4 separate regions of the Homo sapiens genome follow, and all the other regions are linked to region 2. The links are contacts of gene promoters, found by promoter capture Hi-C in human tissues and cell types (Jung and others, 2019). All regions are on one chromosome and are shown on one strand. Each heading gives the region's core, a stretch centred on a gene start or on the middle of the fragment in contact. The rest is flanking DNA. Distances are from core to core; before and after follow the strand shown.

What was found. Contacts are between HindIII fragments. The study calls those that stand out against the background at their distance.
Region 1: a fragment that was not itself captured here is called in contact with the fragment with the promoter of SNRNP70 in region 2 in 1 of the 25 tissues and cell types used here (dorsolateral prefrontal cortex).
Region 3: a fragment that was not itself captured here is called in contact with the fragment with the promoter of SNRNP70 in region 2 in 2 of the 25 tissues and cell types used here (dorsolateral prefrontal cortex and liver).
Region 4: the fragment with the promoter of FLT3LG here is called in contact with the fragment with the promoter of SNRNP70 in region 2 in 1 of the 25 tissues and cell types used here (adrenal gland).

Annotation. Positions count from the first base shown.
Region 1 is chr19:48,727,265-48,729,964 of GRCh38, reverse strand. It overlaps RASIP1 (Ras interacting protein 1), which reads left to right. Exons shown (of 12, transcript NM_017805.3): 5 at 375-1,028; 6 at 2,535-2,572. LOC124904737 (a long non-coding RNA gene) reads right to left here and starts at 1,821. Exons shown (of 2, transcript XR_007067286.1): 1 at 1,597-1,821. The HindIII fragment of the contact is 9,581 bases long and covers 1-2,700 here.
Region 2 is chr19:49,084,052-49,086,751 of GRCh38, reverse strand. SNRNP70 (small nuclear ribonucleoprotein U1 subunit 70) reads right to left here and starts at 1,301. Exons shown (of 10, transcript NM_003089.6): 1 at 1,116-1,301; 2 at 191-347. The coding sequence starts at 337. RefSeq lists enhancers at 1,116-1,205, 1,556-1,625. The HindIII fragment of the contact is 18,802 bases long and covers 1-2,700 here.
Region 3 is chr19:49,399,857-49,402,556 of GRCh38, reverse strand. All of the region lies in intron 9 of KASH5 (KASH domain containing 5), which reads right to left. Among named protein-coding and RNA genes, the nearest start is that of KASH5, 13 kb to the right of the region's middle. The HindIII fragment of the contact is 8,336 bases long and covers 1-2,700 here.
Region 4 is chr19:49,472,851-49,475,550 of GRCh38, reverse strand. It overlaps FLT3LG (fms related receptor tyrosine kinase 3 ligand), which reads right to left and starts at 1,336. Exons shown (of 9, transcript NM_001459.4): 1 at 1,270-1,336; 2 at 879-948. The coding sequence starts at 911. RefSeq lists a silencer at 878-957. The HindIII fragment of the contact is 13,748 bases long and covers 1-2,700 here.

The sequences.
Region 1 (2,700 bases), core at 147-2,646, 360 kb after region 2:
GGTAGGTGGATCACCTGAGATCAGGAGTTTAAGACCAGCCTGGCCAACATGGTGAAACCCTTTCCCTACTAAAAATACAAAAATTAGCCGGGTGTGGTGGCAGGCGCCTGTACTCCCAGCTACTCAACAGACTGAGGCAGGAGAATTGCTTGAACTCAGGAGGCAGAGGTTGCAGTGAGCCGAGATCGTGCCACTGGACTCCAGCCTGGAGGACAGAGCGAGACTCCATCTCAAAAAAAAAAAAAAAAAAAAAAAGAAGAAGAAGGAAAAAAAAAGTTGGTGGGAATAGAAAAGTTGTTGTAGAAAACAGAGAGAACAGATCTGAAGATATGGATTGAAGTGATGTCCTTAGTGCATCCTCGTTTCCCCTCCAGGACTTTGTGGTGTATGTGATGACGCGAGAGCAGCACGTGTTTGGGCGAGGTGGGAACTCGTCTGGCCGCGGGGGGTCCCCGGCTCCCTATGTGGACACCTTCCTCAACGCCCCGGACATCCTGCCGCGTCACTGCACAGTGCGCGCGGGCCCTGAGCACCCGGCCATGGTGCGCCCGTCCCGGGGCGCCCCAGTCACGCACAACGGGTGCCTCCTGCTGCGGGAGGCTGAGCTGCACCCGGGCGACCTCCTGGGGCTGGGCGAGCACTTCCTGTTCATGTACAAGGACCCCCGCACTGGGGGCTCGGGGCCTGCGAGGCCGCCGTGGCTGCCCGCGCGCCCCGGGGCCACGCCGCCAGGCCCTGGCTGGGCCTTCTCCTGTCGCCTGTGCGGCCGCGGCCTGCAGGAGCGCGGCGAGGCACTGGCCGCCTACCTGGACGGCCGTGAGCCAGTCCTGCGCTTCCGGCCGCGCGAGGAGGAGGCGCTGCTGGGCGAGATCGTGCGCGCCGCAGCCGCCGGCTCGGGAGACCTGCCGCCCCTCGGGCCCGCCACGCTGCTGGCGCTGTGCGTGCAGCATTCCGCCCGTGAGCTGGAGCTGGGCCACCTGCCACGACTGCTGGGCCGCCTGGCCCGGCTCATCAAGGAGGCCGTCTGGGTGAGCGCCCCCCAATCGCCGTCCAGCCCCACCAGCGCCCCAAGTCCCTTCTCCAGCCTCCCTTCCCTACCTTCAACCCTTTTCATAGCTGGGCTGGATACTACTGTTCCCATGACGCCTCGGGAAGGATTTGGGGTTTTGGGTTTTGTTTGTTTGTTTGTTTGCTTTTGTTTTTGAGACGGAGTCTCGCTCTGTTACCCAGGCTGGAGTGCAGTGGCGGTCTTGGTTCACTGCAACCTCTACCTCCGGGGTTCAAATGATTCTTCTGCCTCAGCCTCCCGAGTAGCTGGGATTGCAGGCGCCTGCCAGCACGCCCGGCTAATTTTTTGTATTTTTAGTAAGACGGGGTTTCACCATATTGGCCAGGCTTGTCTGGAACTCCTGACCTCGTGGTTCGCCCGCCTCGGCCTCCCAAAGTGCTGGGATTACAGGTGTGAGCCACCACACCCGGTGTTTTGGGGTTATTAAGCAAGGGGCCCCCCCATAGAATGCTGGGAGATGTAGATCCACTGCACTTAGAGGGAAGCCCAAACTCACCTTAGGAGAGCTCACCTAAGCACGAACTCACCTTAGGAAGAAACCATTATGGGAGATGGTGGGGGAGAGATCCCACTGGATGAGAAGTTGACAGAGATCAGTGTGAGAATTCACCGCAGCCCATTGGGCTTGGAGCTTGGATAGCAGTGAGCGAGTTCATTCTTGGAGGCGAGGAAGCACAAATCCACTGGACCTACAGATGGAAGTTCCAGAAAGAAACCATTCAGAGTGGGGGAAACGTTCCATCCTATTGAGCTAGGGCCTAACCAGAGAGGTTTAAGGAGTTTCTTGGGGGTAAAAATTGGAGAAGAGGACCTGAAGGAGCTAGATCACTCATAATCATAGGGTGTGTATGTTTTAAAAAGTAAGGAGAGACCATTCTAAAGCTTGTGGGATTAGAATTTGTCTCAAGAGCCAGGCGTGGTGGCTCATGCCTGTAATCCCGGCACTTTGGGAGGCCGAGGCGGGCAGATCACCTGAAGTCGGGAGATCGAGACCATCCTGGCTAACATGGTGAAACCCCGTCTCTACTAAAAATGCAAAAAATTAGCCGGGCATGGTAGCACATGCCTGTAATCCCAGCTACTTGGGAGGCTGAGGCAGGAGAATCACTTGAACCTGGGAGGCAGAGGTTGCAGTGAGCCAAAATTGAGCCATTGCACCCCAGCCTGGGCAACAACAGGGTAACTCCATCTCAAAAAAAAAAAAAAAAAAAAAGAATCCGTATGAAGAGTGAAGGCCGGTTGCAGTGGCTCATGCCTGTAATCCTAGTTCTTTGGGAGGCCAAGGTGGGAGGATCATTTGAGCTCAGGAGTTGGAGACCACCGGTGGCAACATAGTAAGACCCCATCTCTAAGAAAAGTAGGACCAGTCTCTATGAGAGTTGTGCTTCTATAAAAACCAGGGTATTAACTCTTAAGCCCCTCAGTGGATCCCCCTCACCTTGATTCTGATCTTACTGTTCCACAGGAAAAGATTAAGGAAATTGGAGACCGTCAGCCAGAAAAGTAAGAGAAATTCTGAGCAGAGTGGTCTGGAGGGATGCAGGGGTTGGGTTTTGCGTCTAGTTCTGTGTTCACCCCATGCATGCCCCAGTGCAAGTTTCTGCTTCTCCTTGCGCTCAACTTTTCCAGCT
Region 2 (2,700 bases), core at 52-2,551:
ACTACAGACGCACTCGACCACACCCGACACCCGGCTCCAACCCCATTTAAAACAGAGAAACTGAGGATCACAAAGGTTAAGCCCCTCGCTTAAATCACGCAGCTGGCAAAATGGCCAGAAGCTGGACTCGCAAATCCAACCCGTTGCTCCCCAGAACCCAAACCATTCCTGGCCTGCTCAGTGAACTCACCTCAAACTCTCGAATGTACGGCGCAATGCCACAATAAGGTTGATTGTGGTGTTTTTCATGTGGCAGTTTCTCCAGGGGTGGCAGGTATGGAATAGGGTCACGGGGGGCAAAGAGGGCCAGAAGGTTGGGCGGCAGGAACTGGGTCATCTTGCCAAGTCTGAGAGCAGAAGCAGGACAGCCTTAGGTTAGATCGGGTCTGCACAGAGAAAGCCCCTGTTACTCCTTGACTCTCAAAATAAGAAAGACAGGAGAAAAGTCTCGGAATTAAAACAGGCTCTGTAAGGGCAGAGAACAGTCCTGTGTTGCGGAGAAAAGGGTACGTCTTGGTGGGGGTGGAGGTGAAAGGCCGGTAAAGAAAACAAAAATAACGGCTGGAAAAGGGTTCCTGAAGAGTGAAGTCTCAGAGTCCTCTGACACGAGCTGTGGGGCGGAGAGGTTCCCTGGGAATTTCTGGGGAAATCAAGGACCCGAGGAGGGAGGCCCAGAGCAGCTGTGGCTGCTCGTCCCGTGCCGTGGAGGGCAAATTACGAGATGCAGTTTGCAGGGTCCTGGGGATCGGAAGTTTCCAAGCAAAGAAAGAGAAACATAAGGAGCGAAGCCCCAAAACCAAGTGCTTGTGGGTAACAGACCTGGACCCCGCAAAAAGCGAAAGGAATTATGGGTAAGGGTCCAGGACAACATAGACAAACGAAAAAGAAAAAAGGCCACACACCGCAAGGGCCTGTGGGTAGGGAACCACGAGGGCGCTGTGGGAAGCGGGCGTGGGTGCCCAGAGATTTCGGGGTCCGGGAAAGGGATGCAGAAGGGACCTGTGGCGGGGACGCGGGAAAGGGGCCTGGCCGCGGGGAAGAGGACCGGGCCCACCGCTGGGGCTTCTGGGTAGCGGCCCCGCACCCCGTCGGGCCACTCAGTCACACTCACTCACCGCGTAGCGCCCTCCTCGCTCTGGCGTCTGTCCGGAGGCTCGCGGCGGCTGCGGCAGCCCCTCAGCAACAACAACTCCTGCTTCGGCTTCCACTCCGGGGGCGTCCACGTCCGTCTGATTCCGTCGCCCGCTAAGCGAGCGCACCAGGCCGCTGCTCAGCCACCCGCGCGGCCTCCGATAGCGACTGGAGCAGGGGGTGGGTCCCGGCCGCAAATCCCTCCGCCGTCCTCACTGCGCACGCGCCGTGCGGTGCCAACAACAACCCACACACTAGGACCCGGCGCTGCCGCGGGCACAGCGCACGCGCGAGGTCACTACCCCGCCTTTGGGCACCTTGAGTACCTCAGCCGCGGGGGGCTGGCTTCTGCACTGCGCGCGCGCGCTTGCCCCAAGCCGCCCCTCCACCTCCCGCTTTCCGCGCCGAACCGCCTATGTCCGCGAGACTCTCCCTGATGCTCCGCCCCTTTCCGATCACACTTCCCGGATCTTTCGCGCATGCGTTTTGCGTAGAGAACTGTAACGTACCTCTCCGCCGCCTAGCAAAGAGTCCCTAGGTGAACAGCCTGATTGCGTTGATGTCTAATCTATTCAATCAATAACTATTCATCGAGCATCTCGTGTGTGCTAGGCACTGTCTGGGCTTTGGGGGTACAGCACGTGATTAAAGCAAAGTCTTCTGCTGCTAGGGCTTACATTGTACTGGGAGAGACAATAAAAGCATTTAACTGAATAAAGATAATTTGAGGCCAGGCGCGGTGGATCACGCCTGTAATCCCAGAACTTTTGGGAGGCTGAGGCGGGCAGATCACCTGAGGTCAGGAGTGTGAGACCAACCTGACCAACATGGTGAAAGCCCGTCTCTACTAAAAATACAAAAATTAGCCGGGCGTGGCCGTGCGCGCCTGTAAGCCCGGTTACTCTGGAGGCTGAGGCGGGAGAATCGCTTGAACTCGGGAGGCGGAGGTTGCAGTGAGCCGAGGTCGTGCCATTGCACTCCAGCCTGGGCGACAGAGCGACTCCGTCTCAAAAGTAAATAAATAAATAAATAATAAAAGATAATTTGAGATAGTGGCCAGCATAATGAAGAACGATGGAGCAGAATAAAGGGATGGGAAGTGAGAGCGAGGCTGTTTTAGAAAGGGTGATAATGGAAGGCCCCTCTGAAGAGGTAACATTTGAATAAAGGACAGATAGAAGCGAGATCTGGGGTGGGGCCGGGGGGGCGGTGTTTAACAGTAAGTGCAAAGGTCCTGAACTGAGACCAGATGGCAGGAATCTCAGGTTGTTGGCCATGAGATCAGAGAGCTGGCACTTGTTATTTAGAGCCCTGTTCTTAAGTATTGTATCTTAAGTTTTGTGGATGGATTCAATAGCCTGTTTAATAACTACAGAAATTATTGCAAATTAAAATGACTAATTTTATGTTTCAAGAAAAAGGCCGAGTGCAGTGCTCACGCCTGTAATCCCAGCACTTTGGGAGGCCAAGGCGGGCAGATCACCTGAGGTCAATAGTTCGAGACCAGACTGATCAACATGGAGAAACCCCGTCTCTACTAAAAATACAAAATTAGCTGGGCATGGTGGC
Region 3 (2,700 bases), core at 133-2,632, 320 kb before region 2:
TTTTATATTTTTAGTAGAGGTGGGGTTTCACCATGTTGGTCAGGCTGGTTTCGAACTCCTGACCTCAAATGATCCACCCATCTCGGCCTCCCAAGATGCTGGGATTACAAGCGTGAGCCACTGTGCCTGGCCTTTCATTCTTTTATTTACTTTTTTTGTTTTTTTTTGTTTTATAGAGACGGGCTCTCACTATGTTGCCTAGGTTGGTCTCGAACTCCTGGCCTAGGCAATCTTGCTTTGGCCTCCCAAAGTGTTGGGATTACAGGTGTGAGCCACCATGCCCAGCCGGAAAGTTTTTCTTTTCCTTTTTTTTTTGAGACTGAGTCTTGCTCTGTCGCCCAGACTGGAGTACACTGGTACCATCTTGGCTCACTGCAACCTCTGCCTCCTGGGTTCAAGCGATTCTCCTGCCTCAGCCTCCCGAGTAGCTGGGATTACAGGTGTGTGCCACCACACCCGGCTGATTTTTTTATTTTTAGTAGAGATGGGGCTTCACCGTGTTGGCCAGGCTGGTCTCGAACTCCTGATCTCAGGTGATCCACCCACCTCGGCCTCCCAAAGTGCTGGGATTACAGGCGTGAGCCACTGCGCCTGGCAACTTTTTCATTCTTAAAAAGGGATGTTCTGAAAGAAACTGTCACATCCTGCTGCATTCCATGTCTCACATGGTACAGCCATCCTGCTGTGAGATTCCCATTGCCCCAAGGGGGTGAGTTTTCATGGAAGAGCCAGAAAATAGCAGAAAGATTTTGGATTTCAGTGTAAAAAACACTGCACATGTAGGACAAAGATATTTTTTGGGAATACATGATCTGTCTGGACTAGGCAGAGATCCTTAGAGCTGGGGGAGGAATGCAGGACAGACAGAGAAGAGAATAGGCTGAAAATGAGCCCAGAGTTTTCCCCTAACCCAGGGCTAGCTATGAGGGGTGGAGGGTATGGATGGAGAACCGCAGAGCCCTGGAAGTCTTGTGATCTGAGAGGCCTTGCGTGTACTTCCCAGAGCACTCTCAGAATCATCACGGTGTGAGAATAATAGAGATGCTACTTTCTTGTGAAAGCAAAGAGGCCTCACTGGTGGGTCCTCTCCAGACCTCTGCCCACCCCAGCCCTGTGTCCTCCAGTCTGTCAAGGCCTGGGTGGGGTTTGGGATCCTTCAGGGAAATGAGTGACGGACAGGGACTTTGCTAACAGCTCAGGGAGAACAGAGGAATCTCTCTCCTGTTTCTCTTTCCCCAGAGAAGCCACATCTCCCCACCATGAGCACCCACCCTGGCCTGGGGAAATGAGGCAGGGGCTTTGGGCAGTGACCCCAGCCTCTTCCCTTTCACAGGAAAGTAGCCAAATCACCTCCCTGGCTCTGGAAGGGTGTGGAAGTGGTGGAGTAAGAGTCCCAGCCCAGATAAGGGATCACCACCAGAAGATGAAGAAGATGGTATGTCCAGAGATCCAAAGGCAATGCGGGCCTCACAGTAGATGCCAGCACACAGTGGTGACAAACGCTTGGACAAAACCCATCAATCTCATGAACAGCAGAGAGGAGAAACATTGAGTGAGGATCAGCAGCCTCCTAGAGCACTAGGCTCCTGCATCAGTCTCCTGCAACTTAGATACCACCTTGAGGTCGGGGGTGGTGACAGGTTTCATTGTCAATTGATGAGTTTGTTTCAATCTAAAAAAAATTAGGTGGGCCCAGAATGAACTAAGATGATGTTTTTCTGTCTTGGATGGAACGGGGCTTGAATTAAATGTGAAGCTGAACTCAGTCTCTTCATATTGTTTGCTAGTCCCTCAGTGAAATGCTGTCAATCCTCAAAACAAGCCTACTGAACAGATACCCTTCTTCCAGTTCTTTGAAAATAAAAGTAGGTCAGGTGTGGTGGCTCATGTCTGTAATCCCAGCATTTTGGGAGGCTGAGGTGGGCAGATCACCTGAGGTCGGGAGTTTGAGACCAGCCTGACCAACATGGAAAAACCCCGTCTCTACTAAAACAAACAAACCAACCAACCAACAAAAAAACAAAATTAGCCAGGTGTGGTGGCACATGCCTGTAATCCCAGCTACTTGGGAGGCTGAGGCAGAAGAATCACTTGAACCGGGAGACGGTGGTTGCCATGAGGTAAGATCGCGCCATTCCACTCCAGCCTGGGCAACAAGAATGAAACTCTGTCTCAAAAAAAAAAAAAAGAAAAAAAAAAAAAAGAAACTAAAAGTAAAGGCTTGAGAAGGAGAAGTCACATGCTTAAAGGTTGCCTATTGTGTAAGTGGCGGAGATGGGATTTGAACTCAAGGTTGACTTCAAATCCAATTTTTTTTTTTTTTTTTTTTTTGAGAGGCTCTCGCTCTGTCATCCAGGCTGGAATGCCATGATGCAATCTTGGCTCACTGCAACCTCTGTCTCCCGGGCTCGTGCAGTCTTTCCACCTCAGCCTCCTGAGTGGCTGGACTACAGGTGCACACTACCATGCCTGGCTTATTTTTCTATTTTTTGTAGAGGCAAGGTTTTGCCATGTTGCCCGGGATGGTCTCGAACTCCTAGGCTAAAGGGGTCCACCCAGCTAGGCCTCCCGAAGTGCTGGGATTCCAGGCATGAGCCACTGTGCCTGGCTGTTTTATTCACTGTAAAAAATACTAATATAGAAACAATGCTAGATAACTTTTAGTGAGCACATCCTATGTGTCCTACCTTGTGCCCAAGA
Region 4 (2,700 bases), core at 87-2,586, 390 kb before region 2:
CATGGCCCCATCTCTGCCTGTCTTTCCCGGTTTCTCTCTGCCTCTGGTCCAATGCTGTCCAGTTTGCATCCCCCTCTGCCCCACCCCTCTCTCTCCCCATCTCCCCCACTCTGCTGGTCTCTCTCCAACCACCTCATCTTCACGTCTGGTTTCCTCGCCCGGGTTCCTCCAGCTCTGTCCCTCCCTCTGCCTTCTACACCACTGTTGCCTGCTTCTCTCTTGATCTTGGTCCACGTCCTCTTCATTTGTTCTTGGCTCTGTCCACCTTCCCTCTCCTCTGTCCATCTCCCCCCTTTTCTGTCCATCTCCCCCTCCTCTGTCCATCTCCCCCCTCCTCTGTCTCTCTTCCTCTCCTCTGTCCGTCTCCCTCCTCCTGTCCACCTCCCCCTCCTCTTCATCTCCCTCTCCTCTGTCCATCTCCCCCTCCTGTCCATCTCCCCTCTCCTCTGTCCATACCCCCTCCTCTCCATCTTCCCTCCTGTCCATCTCCCCCACCTCTGTCCATCTCCCCCTTCTCTGTCCATCTCCCTCCTCCTGTCCACCTCCCTCCTCTTTATCTCCCTCTCCTCTGTTCATCTGCCCTCTCCTCTGTCCATCTCCCCCTCCTCTGTCCATCTCCCCGCTCCTGTCCATCTCCCACTCCTCTCTATCTCCCTCTCCTCTATCTCCCCCTCCTCTGTCCATCTCCCCATCCTCTGTCCATCTCCCCCTCCTCTGTCCGTCTCCTCTCCTATCCATCTCCCCTCACATCTGTCCATCTCCCCTCCTATTTCCTCGTCATCTGTCCATCTGTTCTCCCGTCCATCTCCCCTCATCTCTGCCCCATCCTGACATTGTGCCTCCCCTCTCCCCTGATCTTGTCCCTGGGGTTTACGCACTGTTGGGCTCCAGGCTGGCGCCAGCACTGTCATTTCGGCCGGGGGCCCCTCATGCCTCCTGTCGCCGGGTCTTGGAAGGGACAGAAGAACAAGTCTCGGACCCTCATGCCCCAGCCCCTGCCCTGCCCGCCCCTTTGCCTCCCCGCCCCTCCCGCGTCCCATTGATGTGGCTGAGTTTCCGCCCCTTCCTCCCCCAGGCTTCCTGCGTCTGCCCCAGTTACGGTGAAAACTCTTCATCTCCACTTCTAAGAACCTCGACGTCTGGTCCCCAGAACCCTCCCCAGGTTAGGGACCCGGGAACCCAGCCCCCCACCCTCTGCTCCCCCTGCCCCAGGAGTGGGGACCCTGGCTCCGCCCCTTGGGGACCTAGAGTCCAAGTCTCCTCACGCACCAGGCTTGCCCCAGTTGGGTGTGGAAGGGGCCAAGCCGGGTGACAGCCAGAGACCGAAAGTGAAAGGAAATTTTTGGGGGGAGACAGTCAAGGGGTGGAATCTGGGCCCAGGCGGAGCGCGCCCCCTGGTGGTGAGAGGCGGCCGCTCACGCCGCAGATGGCGCGTTCTCCGGACGCCCCGCAGCGGGGGCTGCAGTGGGGCTGACTCCCTGGGTGGCACGCCCAGTGCATGGTGAGCTGGGGCTGGAACCCGGATCTGTCTCTGGGAACTCGCAGTTGCTGTGTCTTACCGTCCTCCGGGCCCCAACTTTGCCCCGCCAAGGCTTGGCACACAGGACTCAGGATGCATCTTGTCACATTGGGCCTGGCAGGTGTCGCCCTAGCACTAGCTTTATCACTGTGGGAGCTTGGCCAGCCCCTTGACCTCTCTAAGCCTCGGCTTCTCCAACTCCAAACTGAGGGGTGAGGTGGTACATGAGACAAAATAGAAGCTCTCTTCCACATCTGTGGATCTCTGAATCTCTGAAGCATTTTTTTTTTTTAGATGGGGTCTCACTCTGTTGCCCAGGCTGGAGTGCAGTGGCACAGTCTCGGCTCACGGCAACCTCCGCCTCCTGGGCTTAAGCAATTCTTGTGCCTCAGGCTCCCAAGTAGCTGGAATTGCAGGTGCGTGCCACCATGCCCGGCTAATTTTTGTATTTTTAGTAGAGACGAGGTTTCACTATGTTGGCCAGGCTGATCTCGAACTCCTGACCTCAGGTGATCAGCCTGCCTCGGCCTCCCAAAATGCTGGGATTACAGGTGTGACCCATCACGCCCATCCTGAATCTCTTGCTCACCCATCTGATCCGTGGCAGACTGTCCTGAAACATCTGCTGCCCCCACCCCCCCAGCAGGAGGATTCGAGGTCCCATCCTGGGGAACTCGGACATGGCCACACTCACTTTGGCCAGTCACATGAGGGTGGAGGTGACAGGTGTCACTTCTGAATGGAAGTCTAAGGGACCGGGGAGTGGATGGTGGAGGATGCATGGAGAGAGCGCCTCTATCAGCCAAGTTTCCTGTGCCACTCGGAGGAGCACAGGGATCCTGCCAGCCCCGGATGAGCACAGGGAGTGTAAGCAACAAACTAATGTTGTGGTTGTGGCCCACGCAGATTCGGGGGTTATGTGTTACTGCAGCAAAGCCTCGCCCGTCCTGGCCTTCATCATCCATTTCCCTTCCCTGATCCCTCTGCCTGCCTCACTTCCTGTTCAGCCTGGGTTAGCTGCCTTGTCGCACCCAATGGTCAGACCTTCCATCTGGCTAGAAAGATTTAAATGAAGCAGAGAGGCAGAGATACAAGCCCCAATAGCTCATGTGGCCCATGGACAAAGGACCTGCTCTAGCTCCTTCCTGACCAAGTCCTGGGGCCCCTCAATGTGTGTCCTG